6 separate regions of the Homo sapiens genome follow, and regions 2, 3, 4, 5 and 6 are each linked to region 1. The links are contacts of gene promoters, found by promoter capture Hi-C in blood cells and fetal thymus (Javierre and others, 2016). All regions are on one chromosome and are shown on one strand. Each heading gives the region's core, a stretch centred on a gene start or on the middle of the fragment in contact. The rest is flanking DNA. Distances are from core to core; before and after follow the strand shown. Region 1 holds the start of TRMT1L (tRNA methyltransferase 1L). Region 2 overlaps ODR4 (odr-4 GPCR localization factor homolog). Region 3 overlaps TPR (translocated promoter region, nuclear basket protein). Region 4 overlaps TPR (translocated promoter region, nuclear basket protein). Region 5 overlaps TPR (translocated promoter region, nuclear basket protein). Region 6 has its middle 6.1 kb from the start of PRG4.

Region 1 (3,335 bases), core at 404-2,903:
GGCTACTTAGGAGGGTGGAACCCTCTCAGCTCCCCATGCCTCCCCGATCCCTACCCACTGTAGTTGAAGAAACAACTGGCCTTATTTTGTACCTACAAGCTCTGATCTTATATAATGAGAAGGGGCTTACCTGAAGCATTCTGACTTTTGTCTTTCCTGTGATTAGCCCTACTCTGAAATCTATAACAATTTGTATGTTGTTTCAAAACTGCAAAATAATCCTATCTATAACTATCTAACCTTTTATAAATATTAAACTCAAAACTGGCCTAGAAGTAGAAAAAATAATGAATTAAAGATTATTTTAAGTTCCAATTCAGAAAGCACATAAAGGTCAACTTATGACCACAAACTAAATGTTAAAAGAACTTAAATTATGTCTTTCTTAGACCTTACATTTTAAAATGTTAGAAGATCCTTAAGAAAGTGTTACTCATCAGTCTTTTAAATTCCTATATGGTCCAATAAACCACCACTTAGAAAACATGCAGGCACATTCAGAAGCACAATAATATGGGCCATTAATTCTCAACAGTCTATTTCTGATGGAATGGAGTACAAAACTCAATTGGTATTTATGTATGGGGGAAAACATCCGTAAATTTAGTCGACTCTTTCCTAAACTACTACTCAGCCTCAAAATCTTTTCGGAGGCAAGCTGCTAGCGGGGGAAAAGAAAACTGAAATGAGAAAAACTCATCTCCTTGTGGCTGTCGAAGCAGAAAAGCTAGTTGACAGTAATGGTTTAGAAATGTTGGCAGCTAGGATCTACTACCGTAAACAGGTTGCCTCGGTTACTATGTCACATTTGAAAGAACTTAGTTAACCATGGCAGACTGGACTGCGGGAAACTACCAAATTATGTGTAACTTCCTATTTTTGTACCTTAAAAAGACTCCCTTTTAAGAAAAAGCCCTTAACCTCATTATTTCCTTCTATCTGCAGCATTCCTGCTCTCCGCATATCCCTCACCGTGACATCCTCGAGGCTTATGAAGATGCCGTCTCCCATTCTGTAACCCTGCTTTAGCCGCTACACGGGCCCCTCTTTCCTCCCCACCATTTTCCTAAACCTGCCTTGCCCCATAAAAACCATCCCGGTGAAGGGCCTCCCCTACTTCCCAGCAAGGCGCACTTTCTCTCTTCTGCAGCAGAAAGATCTGGGCCTTCTGCACTTACTGCTTTTAGCCTCCTCAGGGGCAGAGGCTAGGGACGGGGACAGGGCCGGAGCCTGGGCCAGGGCAGGGGCTGGGGCTGGAGCCGAGGCCGGAGTCGGAGCCGAGTCCAGAGCCGAATCCGGGGCCGGAGCTGGGACCCCAGCCGAGTCCCGGGCCGGGGTCGGGACCTGGACCTGGGCCACCTCCACCTCCTCCTTCTCCAGGGGCAGCAGCTCCTCCTCCGCCATATTCTCCATAGTTACCGCCTCCGTGCCAAGCCCGCCCGGGGACCCGGAGCGGGGCTCACGGCGGGGTCAGAGAACTGACGTGAATGCCCACAGGGCTGGATCCAAGGAGTGGGGAAGCAAGTGGGGAGGGCGGGATGCGTGCAACAGACAAAAGATGAAGAACCAGTGACCAAATCCTGTTAGTAGAAAACAGAAAGCCAGAGGCAGCGATTCCAGATGCCCGTCCGCTTCCCTTTCCCCGAGGCGTTACGACGCCACCACAAACTGCGCAGAAGCGTACTGGGGACGGCGTCCAATTGGGTAAGAGGGTTCGGTTTCTACGGTGCGTCTCCGGCCCACCGGCCAACCACCAAACCGAACAAAGACTACAGCACCCAGGATACACTGCGCAGTCTGGGGGCGGGGCCGGAGTTCAAGCCTCGGAGGAAGTAAATGCAAATCTAAGCGAGCGCTGTGGGGCGGTGAGTAGGTAGTGCGGATGCGGGCGCAGAACTACGTTTCCCAGCAGGCATACAGTTGGTGGGGCGGGGTGTGTGTGTGTGTTGGGAGGCGGGGGTCCCTCTCCTTTGGCTTGGGGCTCCGGAGTTGCCACTGCCGCCGGCGCTGGTAAGGTAGGAACTGCGGGGTGCGTTGACGTTTTGCTGGGCAGGTTCCCCCTCGTCCCCCGCCCCAAGTATACTGGCGGGCGGGCGGCCGGCCGGACTGGGGACTCAGGAGTCACACGGACCTGGGCGGGGCGACTCTGTGGGCGGGTCCGGGGACGAGCCAGCTCCGTGGAGGGTGTGGTTCTGGCCCGGCTTGCCTCCGGGGCTGCCCCTTGCCCGGTGTTGGGGTCTGGTCGGTTCGTGCGGAGCCCGCGGGCCCGCGGCGGTTTACTAGCAGCTGACGAGCTTGCCTGTCCATCCAGCTGACTTGGAATTAGGGTCTGTTCTTCATTTCGCACCCTCACCTACACCGTGACCCGAACACTCTTTTCCTTTGTTTTTATTTTTGCTTTAGTCTTCATGTTGCCAGTATCAGCAGTTCTGCGGTGTGGCCAGTGGATAGAAATTAGTTGTTTTGCTCTATTTTGCTTTGTTTTCAGGCTTTTAATAACCAGAGCTCTGAGTGGGTAGAGCTTCGGGGCATTTAATTTTGATGCGTTTCAGATCCCCAAAACATATGCTAGCGAGTCCCCTGTCCCCCGTACTTCTCTCCCCTTCACTCTTAGTGCCTACTTGACATTCGAGCCTTTCTTGTTTCTTTCTTCTGTCCCCCCGCGATAAATCCACTGGGACAGAAAGGAGAAAAACGTGAACTTTCTGGCTGCCCTGCTTGGGCTTGGTCCGAACCTTCTAGGCATCAGGGCAGGAGAGGGAAGCCCAATTTAGTCTCAAGAACAAGACGCGCGCTTCCAGTTAGCTTTTCTTAGTTAATTAAGTTGATAAACGCCAATCTTCTTGGTCTATTTGTTTCCTACTTGTTTCAGAACCCCGGGGAAGAGATAGCATGATTATTTGGCACTTTGAAGCACTAACTGGAAATTAACTCCTCCCCCTATAGTTAAGAAGTATATATCTGGAGGGGTGTGTGTGTGTGTTTAACCTCTCCCCAGTTTAATGGGAACAGATTATCCCTGTGGAGCTTCTGTGAGTTATAGTCCTAAATCCCTTTTACTGATCGTCCCGTACAGCTTTTATCTAGTATTCCTGAATGTGTAGTTGACTCATGGCTCAACAGTCAATTAAAAATGGGATAACACTGACTATAACTTACAGAAATGCTAACTATATCTGTGCATCATCCAATAATTCTTGTTCTCATTTCTTTTTTTTTTTTTTACTGTCGTTCATGATGATTTTTTATTTCTAAATGACTAGATGGTTAACTGAAAGCTAGATTCAGTATGTTAATGTCATTTAACACCAGCTGGAAACCAGATTAAAAGGGTC
Region 2 (3,335 bases), core at 495-2,994, 1.2 Mb after region 1:
ATAATGGATTTTCAAGTCAGACTCCCTCTGTTCAAATTCCAGATCTAGTATGCTGCTAAAAATAGGGATACAGAGGTAGAATTACTTATTCCCTTAAGGAGCTCCCTGACCAACTAGTAGGGTTCACAGATAACTATGATATAAGACTATGTGATAAAATCCATGGGAAAACTACACCAAAGCCCTGTCGGAGTTCAGAGATGAAAAGATCAGAGAAGGCAGCTTCCTCAAGCTGCCTTTGAAGTATCCAGTAGGGTTGAGACATGCAGAAGTATAAGAAAAAGTCAGTTTCGGCCTAGGGAACACCCTGAGTAAAGACACATAGTTAGAAAGCCTAGGATGTGTATGGAAAACAGTTTATAGCCTCATTTGACACTACTTTTCAAGTAGTTTTTGACAAATATTTGAATTACTTGAGGAAAAGTAGTGTCAAATGAGGGTATAAACATCATTGACCAGATCCTAGAAAGTCTGAAATATCAATCTAAAATAAAACTTCATTTTATTTAGCTGATGGTGGGACGCCATTGAAAAAATATTTCAGTCTTTGATCTCCTGAGAAAAGGATTTATTTATTGATGTAGCTAAAGGATGTTGTTATCAGATAGTTTTATTTATAAAGTAGTTTTAAGGTGAAAAGCTAAGGACATGCTAAGCAGACAGTTTCTCAAACAGAAAGGATTGCATATAATGCCAATTTGTTAGCTAATAATATATTTCTATTTTTAGGTATCCAGAATGCTACCAGGGGGACTTTTAGTTCTTGGAGTATTTATTATTACTACTTTAGAACTGGCAAATGATTTTCAAAATGCCCTGCGTAGAGTAAGTTTGATATATCGAAAATTCTTAATGAAATCAGTTATATGTTATTTTTACTGATTATGAGTATGTGTAATGATTCTAGGCATATTTACATTTGTTTTCCATAATTCTTTTTGTTGGGGTTACATTGAAAAAGCTTTTGTCACTCAATTGCTTGGATATCTTGAGTGTAAAAAATGTTTATATTTTTAAAAACTACACATTTTATTTATTATTTTTTCCATGGGTAATTTTATTCTTTATTTAGTACACTACCCAAAACAGGGCTATCATCAGCCCATATGGCATTTCATACAAATTTGAAAAAGCTATTCTTTCCTCAAGTTAAAAAGTTAAATTATTTACTTCTCAATAATAACCATGACTAATGACAGTAATTCCATGTAAATTATGCAAACAAATAATTCATTGTAAAATATTGAAAAATTCAAATGATTAATTATAATATTAAGAACTCAAAGTCACTTGGATCTAATAATTTGTTGTAAAAAAGGCATCTTTGTGGAAGTAATTCTTTTTGACAGAAAAACTACATATTTTAAAATAATCTTTATTTTAGAGGTAATTTCTGACTATTAGGAAACAAATTATAATGCTTTAAACAGTTTTTCTTATGCAATAGCAGTATTCTGTCACACCTTCCATTTAGTACCTAGTGATTACTGTAACATGAAATTAATAGGTGCTGAAATTCTTTACCTTCTTCTCAATTCTCCGGAGATCCTGAGAGTAAAACATAAACAATCAGATTATTCCTGGACACAGTATCTATCAGAAATCTCCTGTGTTTTTTGCTTAATTGCTGCACCAGAGAATTGGGTAACATAGTGTAAAAGTAAATATGAAGGTCCACATGCTGTTTTCCCTTAAACCCAAACCTAAGGTAGATTCTGTGTAGCCAGCTCTTTTAGCATTCAGGATCCACATGAACTTTTTGAAGGGTATTTCATACCCCAAAAGAGGGGGAACCTTAAAATCTTGAGACATATAAAACCCAACCCCAACAGTATCCCAGAAAAACATTTTTTAGGTAAAAAATATACAGCTGAGAACTTCAGATGTTACAGATTTTTTCAGTCTTGTAACCTGTCCTGTCAGATGTCCCAGCCTCAAGCCTTTGATATTTGCACCTAAGGGAGTAAGGGAAGAAAATGGAGATATTCTCCTCCCTGCTAAATTGTTTAACCCTCTGCCAACTTTTCCATCTTAAATAAATTTACCTTGTTTACAATTGTTCATTCTCTTTGGCATTTTGAAATTTAACCGAAATCTATGCGTATTTAATATTAATAGCATTCATTGTGCAACCTTTTTTGGCTGGTGCTGAATTGAGGGGGTTGAATGTGGGCCCAGTGCTAGAGAGATACAGCCAGGCCCACTTTCCTTGCTTTTGTATCTTTTGTTCCTAAAAAGTATATAAAACTTTAGAAATGCTTTATCTCTGACATTACTGAGTTTCAATTATCTAATTGTTTCCACTGGCTACACTGACAAACACTACAAGAAACAGCCTTATAAAACTTGTCAGTGTCACCCATTATTGTTAAGGACTTTATTCATCATATTACATTAATATTGTGTTTCCGGAAGAATTTCTTTTTATATTATGAAGAAGGTTGTGCCTCCTCTGATGATTGTTTTTAGCTTACAGACCATGTGAATTAGGTTACAGATTAGATTTCTCTCTGCACATTATTGTTAGAAAGCTTAGACCGAAATGTATTACCACCCCTTACATCAAGTATGCATTTTTATAATTCTTATTTCTGACACAAATTTATCTCACTATTCTACTTTAACTTTCAATTTGTTATTACTATATTTTATATGTTGTTATATATTGCCTTAAGTCTTGTGTGACGTTTAAATAAGAAATGCTAAATGGGTGACATGCTTGATTTCTTTAGTTAAAATCACTTATCATTTCTCATTCTAATTAAAGTCTCTGTTCTATAGTTTATATAAATTCTAGTTGCCCCAAATTAATTTTTTGTGTCCAGTTAATCTCTAATGATAGTGAATTAAATTTTTTTATTTAAACCCAATTTTTCTGTAATTTCCTAAAAGGAATTCAAAAATGTTAGTAATTAGCTCCAGTCTTTAATTTGAAGAAAAGAAAAATTAATGGTGGCACACACCTGTAGTCCCAGTTACTTGGGAAGCTGAGGTGAGAGAATCACTTGAGCCCAGGTGTTCAAGGCCAGCTTGAGCAACATAGTGAGACCCCTTCTCCAATAAATAAAGAATCATGGAATTTTAAAGCTAAATGAGAGTTGGGGACATTATAATTGCCTATTTCAACACTCATCTTTTTTTTTCATTTTACATTCAATTAGTGTGTATTTTTCTCTCTTTCAGCTAATGTTTGCTGTGGAAAAGTCTATAAATAGAAAGAGATTGTGGAATTTCACAGAGGAGGAAGTCTCAGAACGAGTGACACTTCACATTTGTGCTTCTACAAAAAAGTATCTTTTGTTCAGTTTATGGTTTAAAAGTACAAAGTACCAAAA
Region 3 (3,335 bases), core at 301-2,800, 1.2 Mb after region 1:
GAGTAGGAGAAATAATAGGATATGACAACTCTATACTCAACCATAACAAAAAAATATCAGCAACAGAAATGGGCTGAGCACTAACTCCTAGCACTAACAGAAGAAAAATAAAGGAATGGAGCTAAAAGCTACAAGCACTTCTTCATACCTGTTAAGTATTCAAGTTCTTGAGATAGTCTCTCATTGGTTCTAATTAAGTCTCTTTTCTCAGCTTCTAATTCTTCCTTTGTTCTTGTAAATTGGCTCTGTCATATAAAGAAGTAATAAGTAAGAAAATCAAGTAGAGCAATACAGGAAAGCGAACATAGAATTGTCACTTTAGTTAACATCAGCTGTAGTGTAAATGACTGGCTTTCTCTTATAACTTACACATCAAAGTTAAAAAATACCCGTAATTCCAATGTTTCTATTTAAATTTTGGATTTTTAAAACATTTTTACTAGGCTTATGAAAATTTTTCTCATATCTCTTTTAATCACATGGAAATGTCCTAATAACTTAGAATATCACTGTATTTACACCTTAGTTCAAATTATTTTTCAAGAAAGATTCCTAAAAATTGAATTACTTAAAACTTTTAATATATTTTGTCAGCCAGGTGCAGTGGCTCATGCCTGTAATCACAGCACTTTGGGAAATCAAGCTGGGCCGATCATTTGAGTCTAGGAGTTCAAGACCAGCTTGGGCAACACAGCGAAACCCAGTCTCTACAAGTAGAAAAAAACAGCCAGACATGGTGGCACATGCCTGCGGTCCCACCTACTCAGGAAGCTGAGGTGGGATGATCATTTGAGCCCGGGAGGCAGAGGTTGCAGTGAGCCAAGACTGCATCACTGCACTCTAGCCTGAGTGACAGAGTGAGACCCTGTCTCAAAAACAAAAAACTTGTCAAACTGCTTCCCAGCAAAACAATGGCAATCTACATGTTTTTGAGTTAGAAATATCTATCTCAAGCTACCTATGTCAGAACTGTAGGTTGCCTTTTAATATTCTTGTTTCCTGTGTAGAAGCTTTTTAGTTTGATGTAGTTCCGTTTATTTCTTTTTGCAGCTTGAACTACTGATGTGATCCAAACAATCATTACCAAGGCCAATGTCAAGAACCTTTCCCCTATGTTCACTTCTCTGAGTTTTATGGCTTCAGGTCTTACATTTAGATCTTTCATCCATCTTGGCTTGATTTCGGTATATGATGTAAGCAACACAAACATCCAACATTCATTTCTTCAAATGTGGAAATCCAGTCTTCTCAACACCATTAATGAGGAGACGATCACAACTCCATTGGGTCTTCTTGGCACCCTTGTTGAAATTAGTTGACCATATGTTTGGATTTATTTCTAGGCTCTCTATTCTATTCCATTGGTCACTTTTCTGTTTTTATGTCAGTACTGTACTATTTGGATTACTATAGTTTTATAACAGTTTTCTAAATCATGAAGTATGATGCCTCCAACTTTGTTTTTCTTGCTCAGTACTGCTTTGGTTATTATTCAGGATTTTTAAAACTGATTCCATCAGAATTTCAGAATTTTTTTTTTCTATTTCTGCGAAGAATGCCTTTGGAATTCTGACAGGATTGGCCTGAATCTTTTTACCACTTTATAGTGTGGACATTTTAGCAATATAATTCTTCTTATCTATGAGTATGGTATATCTTTCCCATTATTTGCATCTTCAATTTCTTTCGTCAATGTTATATTATTTTCAGTATATGAATCTTTCACCTCCCAGGTTAAATTTATTCCTAAGTTGTTTTTTGATGGTACTCTAATGAAATCTTTTCTTAATTTCTTTTTCAGCTAGGTCATTGTTTGTGTATAGAAATGCTACTAGATTTTTTAATATTGATTTTGTATCCTTCAATTGTATAAATTCACTTATTAGCTCTGACAGGTTTTTGTGGAATCTTTCAGGTTTTCTACATATAGGATCATATAATCTATAAGTAAAGATAATTTTATTTCTTCCTTTCCAATTTGGGTGCATTTTATTTCCTTTTCTTGTCTGATTGCTCTTGCTGGTACGTCCAGTACTATACTGAATACAAGTGGTGAGTGGGCATCCCAGCCTTGCATTGGATCTTAGTGAAAAAGCTTTCAGTTTCTTTCTTTCAGCCACCAAGCAGTTAAATAAATTCTATTACTTTTTAAGTCACTTCATAGTTTTTTTTTTCTGAAAAATTTTATGTGACTGTGTGCACACTATTTTCCTCGGTTACAGATCCATAGTTTTTACAAGATTTATAAAGATTTTGTGACAGCTCTGCTTCTTTCCAAAAGATTAAGAACCTCCGTATTGGGTTTTATTTCTGGACTGCCTTTTATTCTCTGTACTGATTTTTATATCAGCATTGTAATATTTTAATAACCATAGCTTTATAAAACTTGAATATGTGGCTATGCAAGTACTTAATTTAAATTGATACTTCCTTTTTTTAGAAGCATCCTAGCTATTACTATGTTTTTTTCCCCAATCATCTTTAGAACTACATTAACAAGTTTCTGGCTATCTGACTTGGACTTAAGAGTCAAAATGTATTACCAACACATTAATTTGGAAAACATTTCCATCCAGAAATTTGCAATATCTTCATTTATAAAGGTATATTCTCACAGTTTTCAGAGAAGTATTTGAGTTTTCTTGGGTATTGAGTCATTCTTCATATAAATACATTTCTTACAAAGCCTTTCTAGGTATACTACGAGGCTTTTTTGCGCCTATTCAGATTCTGGAAGTAAATTTTTTTTTCCCTTCAGAAATGTGAAGAAATTATCTTTTAACACCAAATAAAATGCAAATTTTAAAAAAGCAATGGCAAAAGTATAAAGTTGTATCTGGTTAAAAAATAATTGCATGCAACCACTTTAATTAACAAATTTGTCAGCAATCCCTGTGATCATATTCAAACTGTCATTCTTATAAAACTACCCTAAGGAAATGACTACCAATGTGGATTCACCCAAATTCCCAACTGTATCACATTTGATATAATACCTGGACTACAGTCAGCATTCAATAGATAATTTCTGTTGAATAAAAGAGATGTCCAATCTATCAATAAAACATAGATCCAATTAAGGAATTTATATTTACATATTTTTGTTGGTAGCTTCCCCTAATAGGACATCAGTTACATCTTCCCATTGACTAATAACTGATAAACAATCAGAATAGAATGTCCCTTCAAGTAAAATGTCTACAATGAGCTTATTCTAAGAAATATCTCTTACCTGAATGGCAATATTGCGATCCTGAGCAATTTCAAGTTCTTTGTTTTTCTCAGTTAGTGCCTTCAGTTGATTGTCTGGATAAAAGGAATTTTATGAATACATA
Region 4 (3,335 bases), core at 520-3,019, 1.2 Mb after region 1:
CACAATTCTAATTAGCAATGAGTTATAAGAACATAGCTTTGAAAATGGAGAGTATTTGAAAGGTGAAGACTGAACTATCTAGTATTTACCAAAATTTGTGAGTTTATAATGCATTTTCAGACATATTAAAGAACTAATCTTAAATAAAGATATCATATATGCTTACACGATTTCGGTATCTAAAAGCTAGTAATATTCAAAATTACAAAGAAATAAGATTTCATAACATTCATCCTAGTTTTTTTTTGTAAGATAAGTTTCTTCAAAATACCTTATCCTGTTGTGCTTTAAGTTCTTCATATTGAGTCTTGTACCTACGTCCAATTTTCTTAACTTGAGTAATAGTTTTGACTTTTTCTTGGATATCAATTATTTTGGCATCTAAGTCCTTCTGGATGGTTTCCTTTTCAGTTCTTACTTTATTTAGATCTTCCTTCAGACTCTGAATTAAGTTCTGGTTGTTAGTCAAAGATGCATTTGATCTTTAAAAAATGGAGGAAAGAAGAAAGATTAAATATATGAGACATTTTTCAAAGTTTGAAGTCCAATGTAACTTTATGTTATACTGCTTTAATAACTTTTTTTTTTGAAAATCCTAAAAAATACCCATATACTTCAAAGGTAAGACCTTACGAATTTACAGCCCTTCGGCAAGATCTTATTACATAGGTTTACATGCACATTTTAGAGATGAGAAAAACAGAGCTACCAATGGTCAAGTAACATGCGCAATTTTACAAACTAAAATCAAGTGATGGTACCCAGATTTTAATTCAGACTTGCTTTAAGAGCAAAACCTACCCTCTTCCTACTGCACTGAGTATTGTCAAATTTTTTCTGTAAAAGGGCCGGATAGAATGTTATGCTTTGCAAGCCACAAAGTCTTTGCTGTATTTTTCTTAAACAATGCTTTAAAAATATAAAAATCATTCTTAGCTTATAGGCTGTACAAAACCAAATCATGGGCCACATTTGGTCTATGGGCTACAGTTTGCCAACCCCTGTCCTATATCCTGAACTGAACTTGAAATCAGATGGCCTGAATTAAGAGTATGGGTTAATTCTGAACTGAACTTGAAATCAGATGGCCTGAATTAGGTAGTCAATCTTTTTGAATCTTAGGCTCCTCATTTTTAAGATTAAAATATAACTCTCCTACTTAACATGCTAGATGATTGCTATAAAGAGAATGTACGTATATATATCACAAAAATTTGTAAGTTGTAAAGCAATATATAAATGGGACCATGATATGGACAAATTACACTAAAGCTTACAAAAGGTAAACCAGAAACATTAATTTTAATGTTTAATTTCTTAATTTTAAAGGGGCAATACTTTGCTATTAGTTCATGTGAGAAAAAATTAGACTTACAAGCTTCCCTTGGCCAGGCATGATGGCTCATGCCTGTAATCCCAGCACTTAGGGAGGCAGAAGTGGGAGGACAGCTTGAGCCCAGGAGTTTGAGACCAGCCTGGGCAACAGAGGGAAACACTGTTCTCCACAAAAAGGAACACAAAAGCCAAAGTAATAAAACCCACTTCCCTTATAGAGTCACAAATATAAGCTAACCAAAAGAAAAAAAAAACCTCCTTGTAAGTTTTTGATAGCTGTAAATTTAGCTTTAGACTTCTGAGTAGCTCTTTAAAAAATAAAATATAGAGAAATAATTATGAGGATAGTCTCATATATATTTTATATACAAAGGCATAATATTAAATCACTGCTTGACTCTACAAAGTAGATGGAAGTCAGATATAGGTGCTCTAGCACTTTCCATTCTTTCTAAAACCAGGAGGCAGGCACTTGGGGAGTCATGTAAATAAGTAAAATAAACTTCTTTTATATTATATATGATTTAAGGCTTCTTTCCATATACCTTGCAATTTCAGCTTTAAGTCTACCAATTTCTTCTGTCAATTGTTGAATACGCTTAGTATGAACTTCCTTTTCAGAAAGGAGCTTCCGATATTCTTCTGTATCTGGATCTTTCTGTTGACTTACTAGATGCTAGAATAACAAAAATGCATACTTGATTTTTTTAGGTTTTATGAAACAAATGTGCTATAATAAAATGGCAGAATATCTGATTATGTTTATATTAGGTGTCCTGCATGTAAAGTAATCAAGCATGGAACTACAAGATACTAAGATCAAACTAAGCTTTGGCTTGTTTGGCTAAGAAGTCTACCCACAATACAAGAGGAAAAAAAAATAAAATGTCATTAAATGTTCATTATTTTTTCATATTTGTGAATAAACATTTCATATTAGTTACAATGAAGCCAAATAAAGGGATCTGAAGAATCAAAACTTTCAATATTAAGTACCTAATTTCATTGAAGTGACATTTACAAGAAAAAAAATATAGACAATGCATTACAAGTTAAACACACAAACCTTCTGTAGATGCCAGGTAATGTGCTTCACATTTGTTAAATTTTTATCACACGAAAGGTGATAAGGGAAAACTAAAGCTCCAAGAGGTTAAGAAACTCTCCCAAGTCATATAAATAATACATGCAAGGCAGATTTCTAACCTTTTGTTTGAATAAAGGGCTGGAGTTTCGAACCACAGTATGTTACATGGTTTCATCTCCCTAAAAACGTTCCAGTGAACAAGTCTTTTTAAAGTGCTTTAATAAATTCAATAAATTATACAGATTCCTATTTTGCTTTTTTTTTTTGAGACAGGGTCTCCCTCTCTCACCCAGGCTAGCATGCAGTGGCATGATCACAACTCACTGCAGCTTCGACCTCCTGGGCTCAAGTAATCCTCTGACCTCAGCCTCCCAAGTAGATGGGACTACAGGCATGTACCACCACGCCCAGCTAATTTTTAATTTTTTGTAGAGTTGGAGTCTCACTACATTGCCCAGGCTGGTCTCAAACTTCTGGGCTCAAGCAATCCTCCCATCTTGGCTTCCGAAAGTGCTGGGATTACAGGCATGAGCCACCGTGTCTGGCCTCAGATTTCTATTTTCATGTATAAAAATATTTTAGAGATAAAATGAAAGGCTAAAACTTTAAAATTATGGAAAATAACTGCTTTTTAGAAATATATATAATATAACCAAAATTTTTTATAAATTGGGTTATAAGTTTAACATCTGTCACGTATTTACATGTATTAATAACATAATAGACTTTCACTAATAAACACAGTAATTTTCACTAGTTCCTCAAATATTTTTATTCCCCTAAGTTTCCCCTATTATTAAAAACACGTGTTTCCATGTTTTGGAAGAGTTTTAACTGCATTTACCTGGTTACGTGCTTTCCAACGTTTGACATCCTCTTCTAAGAGCTTCTTCTCTGCCTGCAACATACCGCT
Region 5 (3,335 bases), core at 354-2,853, 1.2 Mb after region 1:
TTTTTTTCATTCATTCACTTATATTAATAAATATTTACTTGTTGACTACCCATGTATCAAACATACTGCCAGGTGCTGAGAAATACAACAGAAAACAAAATATCAAGTCCCTCAGCAAACAGCCTACAACAGAACACAAATTATATCTGATTCTTTTTCAGACACCCCAAATGCAATCATTAGCAAATCATGAATGCTCAAATTTAAATATATATCCCAAATCTGACAACTTCTCACAATCCTAACTCTACCATCTCACCTAAGCCATTACTATCTTTTCCTGACTTACTGCAGTAGCCTCCAAAGTTTCTCGTTTCTGTCCATTATTCATTTTTAATCTCTTCTGTATGCAGCAGCCAAACTGATCAGATCATGTCATGTCATTATTCTGTGTGAAGCCCTCCAATAGCTTCTGGTATCCATGACAGCCAAGGCAATTACAATGATCTACTCGATCTATCCTCTCCCGCCTCTTAACATATCTCCTGCTACTCTCTGTTCTCACTCACTGTGCTCCAGCCACAGTGGCCTCCTTGTTGACCCTGAACACAAGCAGACACACTGCTGCCTTATGGACTTGGCATCTATTAATATTCTCTTTGATCTAGTATGCTCTTCATTAAGTAACTGCACAGCTTTGATCCCTTTCTTCTTTCAGCTCTTAAATGTCACCTTCTCTTAGTGATGCTTCCTATGAAACTGCCTGCTACACTGTCAAATATTTGTTGACCAAATGAATACTCAGATGGGGGAAGTACAGTTTTACATTATCAAATAAATTTAAAGACATCGTAATTTCATATTATACTTTAAAGGAAACAACCATATTTTCTCATACAAGCTCTGATAAGATATAACAAGTGCTAATTCTATTGAGGAAAGCCAATTTTTATGGGACGTCAAAATATAACTGGGGGCACAAAACTTCAGTAATCATTAATATGATTGTTATACATTTTTTAAGCCTTACTGCGTATGAAATGGTTCTGTAATTTACATACATTATTTTAAATCCTGATTGCAAGATTAGTTATGAGTATCCATATTACATAATGTATAGAAATTTAAAGTTACCAGATATGAAACGGTAGATATTAGGGATATTAACCAATAGGCTGATGTGTCACATCAAAGCAGCTGAGAATCAGGGGAAGAGATTTTGGGATAGCAAAGTTCTGTGATTTAAAAAAGTAATAAATAACTGAGCAGGTCTGCCATAAAATCTGAAGGTTCCATGGCAGAGTTTGAGAATTACCACTGTAAACAATTAAAAATTAAAATAATCAGACTGAATGACCAAGTACTGTATATCCTTAATAGTAAAGGTAATTCTCTGTCTAAAAATTTGAGATAGATGAGCTAGTATAGTGTATTGTTCAAGAGTGGGGTCTCTGGAGCCAGACTTCTTCAGTGTAATCGTTGCTTGTCCGTTACTTATTAGCTATTTGACTTTGAAGAGGTTATTCACCCTTTCTGTGCCTCAGCTTCCATATCTATAAAATGTGGATGAATATCTACCGCACTGAGTTGCGAGAATCAAATAAGGAAATATAAGTAAAGGGCTCAGAATACTACATGATACACAGTTAAGTGTTCAGTAAATGCTAACTGTTATTCTAAAAAATAACTTCTATTACAGGAATAATACATATCTTTTTTTCAAAATAACTTCAAAAATTTGAAAAGCCAAACTCTGAAACTGTTTACATCAGTAAATTTCAAACAATTTTTTTAAGCAACTGAGCTCTTACCCCTTAACTCTCCACATCAAATCTCATGTAGAACCCCAATATGTAGAACACATAAAAATGGAGCTGCTGTGGTTCAAACAGAGGCAAGAGGCCTGGAGTGCCCTAGCACTCCTTAGCCTCCCTCCCAGTATACCCACCCACTACAACCCCTGTAGCACCTCTAAAAGACCCAAGAGCTCTACAAAACATATGTTGACAACCAATAGTCTAGATGAAACATGAGTGAGCTATTCTTTTGGGATGGATCCACCATGTCCATATTTCTTATTATTGATGCCAGAATATTCTTAGAATAATTATTTCAATATAAACCAAGTTCCTTTTAATAATAAAATTTCTCTTTTAAATAAAGCATTTTAAAATACAGGAAAAAAGGATTATTAATTTGTTACTAATAAAGCAGTGTTTTCACAAACAAGTTTGATGTATAAAAACTGTATTGCAGTCAAGGGCAGGGACTCACCTACAGATGAGCTAGAAGGAGGATCCTGGCTGGTGGAGGGGAGATCTGACTCATCAGATGCTTGAACCGGCTCTTCTTCCTGCTGGCTATCAATTTCTAGGCCTGCTTCTGAACTAATACTAAGGAAAAGAAAAATGAGAAAATACAAAACTGATCCTACAGTCAATCATAAATTATATCCACTCTTTTAAATCTATTTTATCACTTAAGTAATCCAGAGCTCCCTTAAACAAAAAATTATAGACTGATTTGGTTACCATATATATTTTTCAAAGGAGCAGGGGGGAAAAGAGCTCAAATTGTTTTTTCCTCATTCCTTTTCTCACTATGACATGTTCCAATTTTAGTTTATGATTTTCCTCTTCTTATGTTTCCTTTTGACAAGGATGTTCACATTCTTGACACTCATAAGAAATATATGGTCCAGATTTTGATAAATCTCAAAACAACATTTTAGGAAAGCACAGTACTATAAAAAGTTCACAACAGTCACACTACTAAATAGTATACCAGTAACCAAACCACGGGCTCTAGCCCAGATGAGATAGGCTATGGGTATGTAAAATTCCTGGCTCAGTGGCTACATCCATCTTTCTCTCTTCCATTCAAGACACAAATGAGGGAGACAGTACAAGAATAACATGAATCTGCTCCAGTTTAAGTCATGTGAAAATTTCAGTACAAAATGACTACAAAAATTAGCCAGGCATGGTGGCGGGTGCCTGTAATCCCAGCTACTTGGGAGGCTGAGGCAGAAAATTGCTTGAACCCAGGAGGCGGAGGCTGCACTGAGCCGAGATCACGCCACTGCACTCCAGCATGGGCGACAGAGCGAGACTCTGTCTCAAAAAAAAAAACAAAAAAAAACAAAACACAACTTTGCAGATTGTTTCTTGGCTAAAGGAAAACAAATGTACAAGTCTGTTGAGACTAAAGCAAGCAAAAACAACAAAATAAACTTTTACCCTTCAGATTCTGCCTCCACAAATACTTCATCTCCATCATCACCTGTTGCTGTTTCATTTGTTGTAGATAAAGTGCCAGTGGATGTAGTCACCATTGGAACAGATTGAGAGGCATGTTCCGAAGCATCAGAGGTGGTGCTCTCAGTAAATACAGTC
Region 6 (3,335 bases), core at 505-3,004, 1.1 Mb after region 1:
GCTACTCTCCTAAACTTTGACCTCCTGTGTTCTTCTGCTAGCATTCATATCTATAGCAATGTGCTTTAAGATTAAAAAAACAAACTAGAGGGCCAGGTGCGGTGAACCCACGCCTGTGATCCCAGCACTTTGGGAGGCCTAGACGGGCGAATCACGAGGTCTCCTGACCATCCCGGATAACACGGTGAAACCCTGTCTCTACTAAAAATACAAAAAATTAGCCGGGCGTGGTGGCGGGCGCCTGTAGTCCCAGCTACTCGGGAGGCTGAGGCAGGAGAATGGCTTGAACCCGGGAGGCGGAGCTTGCAGTGAGCCGAGATGGCGCCACTGCTCTCCAGCCTGGGAGACAGAGCGAGACTCTGTCTCGAAAAAAAAAAAAAAAAACAGAAAAAACGATCAAAGTAAAGAGCAGTTCCTGTTTTCAGTGCTTTGGCGGGCTGATCATAACTTTTCTCAGTTCTGAGAAGTCATTTGTTTCCCAGCACTGTTTCTTACCTTGCTGGGTTTTTCAGCCTACACAGGCCACATCCATCAGTTCAGTCTCGTGCCTATTAATGCATGCTGTCCCAAAGAAGAAGCAGTATGTGTCTCTAAGCACCAAATTCATTTTTAGGAGAAAAAGAATTTTTAATGGCAATCCTACAGTTTCATTAAATTCAATCTGATATATTATCAAACACTTATGTGCCAAGTCCTCTACTAAGTGCTGGGGATACAACATATCCTTGCCTTTGATGAATTTACAATCTAAACTGCAAGATAATTTGTTGATATTTATCAAGAATTATGAAGATGTTCCCACTCCTAAGAATTTATTTTAAAGGTAAAATACAATACAAGCTGCATGAAAAAAAGGAATTTATCCTTATTTTTATTTTGTTTATGTTTGTTTTGCTTTAATCAGAATAAATGTCTGGCACCTAGCTGATACTTAATAAATGTTGATGGTTTGTGGAGGTGTTGTCCAAAGCCTGGTATAGGACTCCTCAAGGCATAGCTGTGACTCTGAGTTTGCCTCTGTAAAGAACAAAGCTTTCTACTATATTACTCTGAGGAGGACTTGGAGGAACAAAGGGTCTGGTCTCTATCAGTGCCCCTCCCATAAATATTTTCTTTGCACAAACAGCAGAATACAAATAAAAGGATAAATAGGTAGCCGTTTATGCTGTGTCTGCTCTCCATCCCCTCAAGAATCTTGAGGTCTAAGTTACACATACAATGAACCCAAGTGCTTGTCAATACCAAAGCCCTTTTCCCCAGTCCAAGGGACAGGCAGAGCAAGTGCTAATATTAGCAGTGACATTTATTCGTTAATTCATTCAAGAACATTTATTGAGCTACCAGAGATATAGAGATACTCTGGAGTCTTGTTTCATAAGCAATCAACCAAAAGAAAGGAGGAAATGTTGAATTTTAATCTTCTGATTGAGTTTTCTGTATCAAGCTTAACATAAGCTCCATGGAGACAATTGTTGCAAATGTCCTGCTTCTTAATCCTTTTGATAGAAATTAGCTGCCATCACGGGGAAAGGGATTTTAAATGGATTATTATGCAATACTATGCAATCAGCCAATACTGCATTATACTCAATATCTTTAAAGAGCCTGGTGTTCCTGCTTTGGAATGACTCAATGAAATGTCTTCTACAATGTCTCTTGGGATACTTCCCTCTTATCCCACCTATCTATGGGTCCTTCAACCACACCCAGGCTTTGCTCCCACTCTCTGAATTTCCCAATTATGAAGTATTTGTCATACTGAGTTATAGCACCCCAATTCACTTTCACTCACTCATGTTGGAAATTACTCATGTTGTTGGCTACTGGAAAATAAGTCAGTAATGTTCCTGTCTGAGCTGTCACATAGTATGCTTCCTTGACATCTGGAACCCAAGTGATGCGGACTTGAATGATCACAATACTGCAGCAATTTGGATTAGAAATCAGACATATGATGGCAAAGTGGCCGTTAGAAGAAAGACAGTAAACCTAAGTTTATCACGTATGAGAAGAAGCCATGCTAGCTGTGAAAAAGCTACAAAATGTAATCATTCTGAAATCTTAAGAAGCTTACAGCATAGTGAGAAAGATGGATATTGATAAGAGTGAGATGCCGTTTTAGAGATGCAAATAGTTACATAGGAGCACAAAGAAGGAAATTACTAACCGTGGATATTATAGCACGTGGGTCATTGAGTTGGTTAAAATCATGGGCTTTGGAGTCAGACAAGGGTTGGGTTAAGATACTAAATTTATCATTTATTGGCTTTTTAGCTTTTTAATCTTGAACATATTATTTATCTTTTCTATGCCTCAGATAATCTCAAATGTCAAATGGGATGAATAATAATAACTATTATGTCATAAGATTACTGTGAGGCTCAGCCGGGCACGGTGGCTCACGCCTGTAATCTCAGCACTTTGGGAGGCCAAGGAAGGTGGATTACAAGGTCAACATAGTGAAACCCCATCTCTACTAAAAATACAAAAATTAGCTGGGCGTGGTGGCGGGCGGCTGTAGTCCCAGCTGCTCCGGAGGCTGAGGCAGGACAATTGCTTGAACCCGGGAGGCAGAGGTCGCAGTGAGCCAAGATCACGCCACTGCACTCCACCCTGGTGACAGAGTGAGACTCCGTCTCAACAACAACAAAAAAAAAATTACTGTGAGGCCCAATAAAGTCATACATTTATGCCATGTAACAAAATAAACACTCAACACATGTTTTCTATTATTATTAGGTTACTAAAATGGCCCATTAGTAAAAGGCTATACTAGAATGATTTTAAGGTTACTTTTTATCTCACAAAGCCCTGTTTTGGAGGAAGAAAAAGCCACGTTATCAGGAACTAAAGAACAAGTAGGTAAGAAGAATGAAAAAGTGGAGCTATATTATTTTTTCTCTTATTGTCACCTTTGGCTACTGTCCCAGTTTTTAGCCGTAGGAGCCTTTAGATTCCAGATTATATGTCATTCATCTGCAAAGAATTCCTTGGGTAGAGTTGGCAGTTCCTCATCTATGTTTCCATAACAGTTTGTGTGCAGCTTTAGAATCATAATCAACCATAACAATAACACCTGTAATTTATTCTGTATATGTCACTAATGTTCAATATAATTCTCTGATTTTTTATGCATCTCTACAATGCCAAATAATTGGAATTATTGCTCCCACTTTCCAGATAAGGAGACTGAGGCCTAGATAATTCAAGAGAATTGTATTAAGCCATCAGGTAGACAACTTTGTAGCGGAGATTTGAACAATGTTCTGACCCACTCCAAAGCCCAGCTCTAGCTGCTCACCACACTGCCTACTCCTTGCACATGACATTTGAAC

What was found. The method cuts DNA at HindIII sites, captures the fragments that hold promoters and counts their contacts. A CHiCAGO score of 5 or more calls a contact.
Region 2: a contact is called between a fragment that was not itself captured here and the fragment with the promoter of TRMT1L in region 1, in 2 of 17 cell types (activated CD4 T cells and total CD8 T cells). The highest score is 10.0, in activated CD4 T cells.
Region 3: a fragment that was not itself captured here is called in contact with the fragment with the promoter of TRMT1L in region 1 in 2 of 17 cell types (total B cells and naive CD8 T cells); the score reaches 6.3 in total B cells.
Region 4: a contact is called between a fragment that was not itself captured here and the fragment with the promoter of TRMT1L in region 1, in 4 of 17 cell types (non-activated CD4 T cells, total CD4 T cells, total B cells and 1 more). The highest score is 6.3, in non-activated CD4 T cells.
Region 5: a contact is called between a fragment that was not itself captured here and the fragment with the promoter of TRMT1L in region 1, in 2 of 17 cell types (fetal thymus and activated CD4 T cells). The highest score is 6.0, in fetal thymus.
Region 6: a contact is called between a fragment that was not itself captured here and the fragment with the promoter of TRMT1L in region 1, in 1 of 17 cell types (naive CD4 T cells). The highest score is 6.5, in naive CD4 T cells.

Annotation. Positions count from the first base shown.
Region 1 is chr1:185,155,300-185,158,634 of GRCh38, forward strand. It overlaps TRMT1L (tRNA methyltransferase 1L), which reads right to left and starts at 1,654. Exons shown (of 15, transcript NM_030934.5): 1 at 1,179-1,654. The coding sequence starts at 1,413. It overlaps SWT1 (SWT1 RNA endoribonuclease homolog), which reads left to right and starts at 1,868. Exons shown (of 19, transcript NM_017673.7): 1 at 1,868-2,015. RefSeq lists enhancers at 742-1,647, 1,491-1,600 and silencers at 1,151-1,400, 2,141-2,260. The HindIII fragment of the contact is 11,948 bases long and covers 1-3,335 here.
Region 2 is chr1:186,385,259-186,388,593 of GRCh38, forward strand. It overlaps ODR4 (odr-4 GPCR localization factor homolog), which reads left to right. Exons shown (of 14, transcript NM_017847.6): 4 at 730-825; 5 at 3,184-3,290. Among named protein-coding and RNA genes, the nearest start is that of ODR4, 11 kb to the left of the region's middle. The HindIII fragment of the contact is 1,570 bases long and covers 960-2,529 here.
Region 3 is chr1:186,367,738-186,371,072 of GRCh38, forward strand. TPR (translocated promoter region, nuclear basket protein) reads right to left here. Exons shown (of 51, transcript NM_003292.3): 3 at 3,233-3,306; 4 at 149-245. Among named protein-coding and RNA genes, the nearest start is that of TPR, 5.8 kb to the right of the region's middle. The HindIII fragment of the contact is 1,085 bases long and covers 1,009-2,093 here.
Region 4 is chr1:186,337,762-186,341,096 of GRCh38, forward strand. It overlaps TPR (translocated promoter region, nuclear basket protein), which reads right to left. Exons shown (of 51, transcript NM_003292.3): 29 at 3,267-3,335; 30 at 1,881-2,011; 31 at 272-482. Among named protein-coding and RNA genes, the nearest start is that of TPR, 36 kb to the right of the region's middle. The HindIII fragment of the contact is 786 bases long and covers 1,377-2,162 here.
Region 5 is chr1:186,315,268-186,318,602 of GRCh38, forward strand. It overlaps TPR (translocated promoter region, nuclear basket protein), which reads right to left. Exons shown (of 51, transcript NM_003292.3): 48 at 3,180-3,335; 49 at 2,215-2,333. Among named protein-coding and RNA genes, the nearest start is that of PRG4, 21 kb to the left of the region's middle. The HindIII fragment of the contact is 5,178 bases long and covers 1-3,335 here.
Region 6 is chr1:186,288,529-186,291,863 of GRCh38, forward strand. No RefSeq gene overlaps it. Among named protein-coding and RNA genes, the nearest start is that of PRG4, 6.1 kb to the right of the region's middle. The HindIII fragment of the contact is 625 bases long and covers 1,443-2,067 here.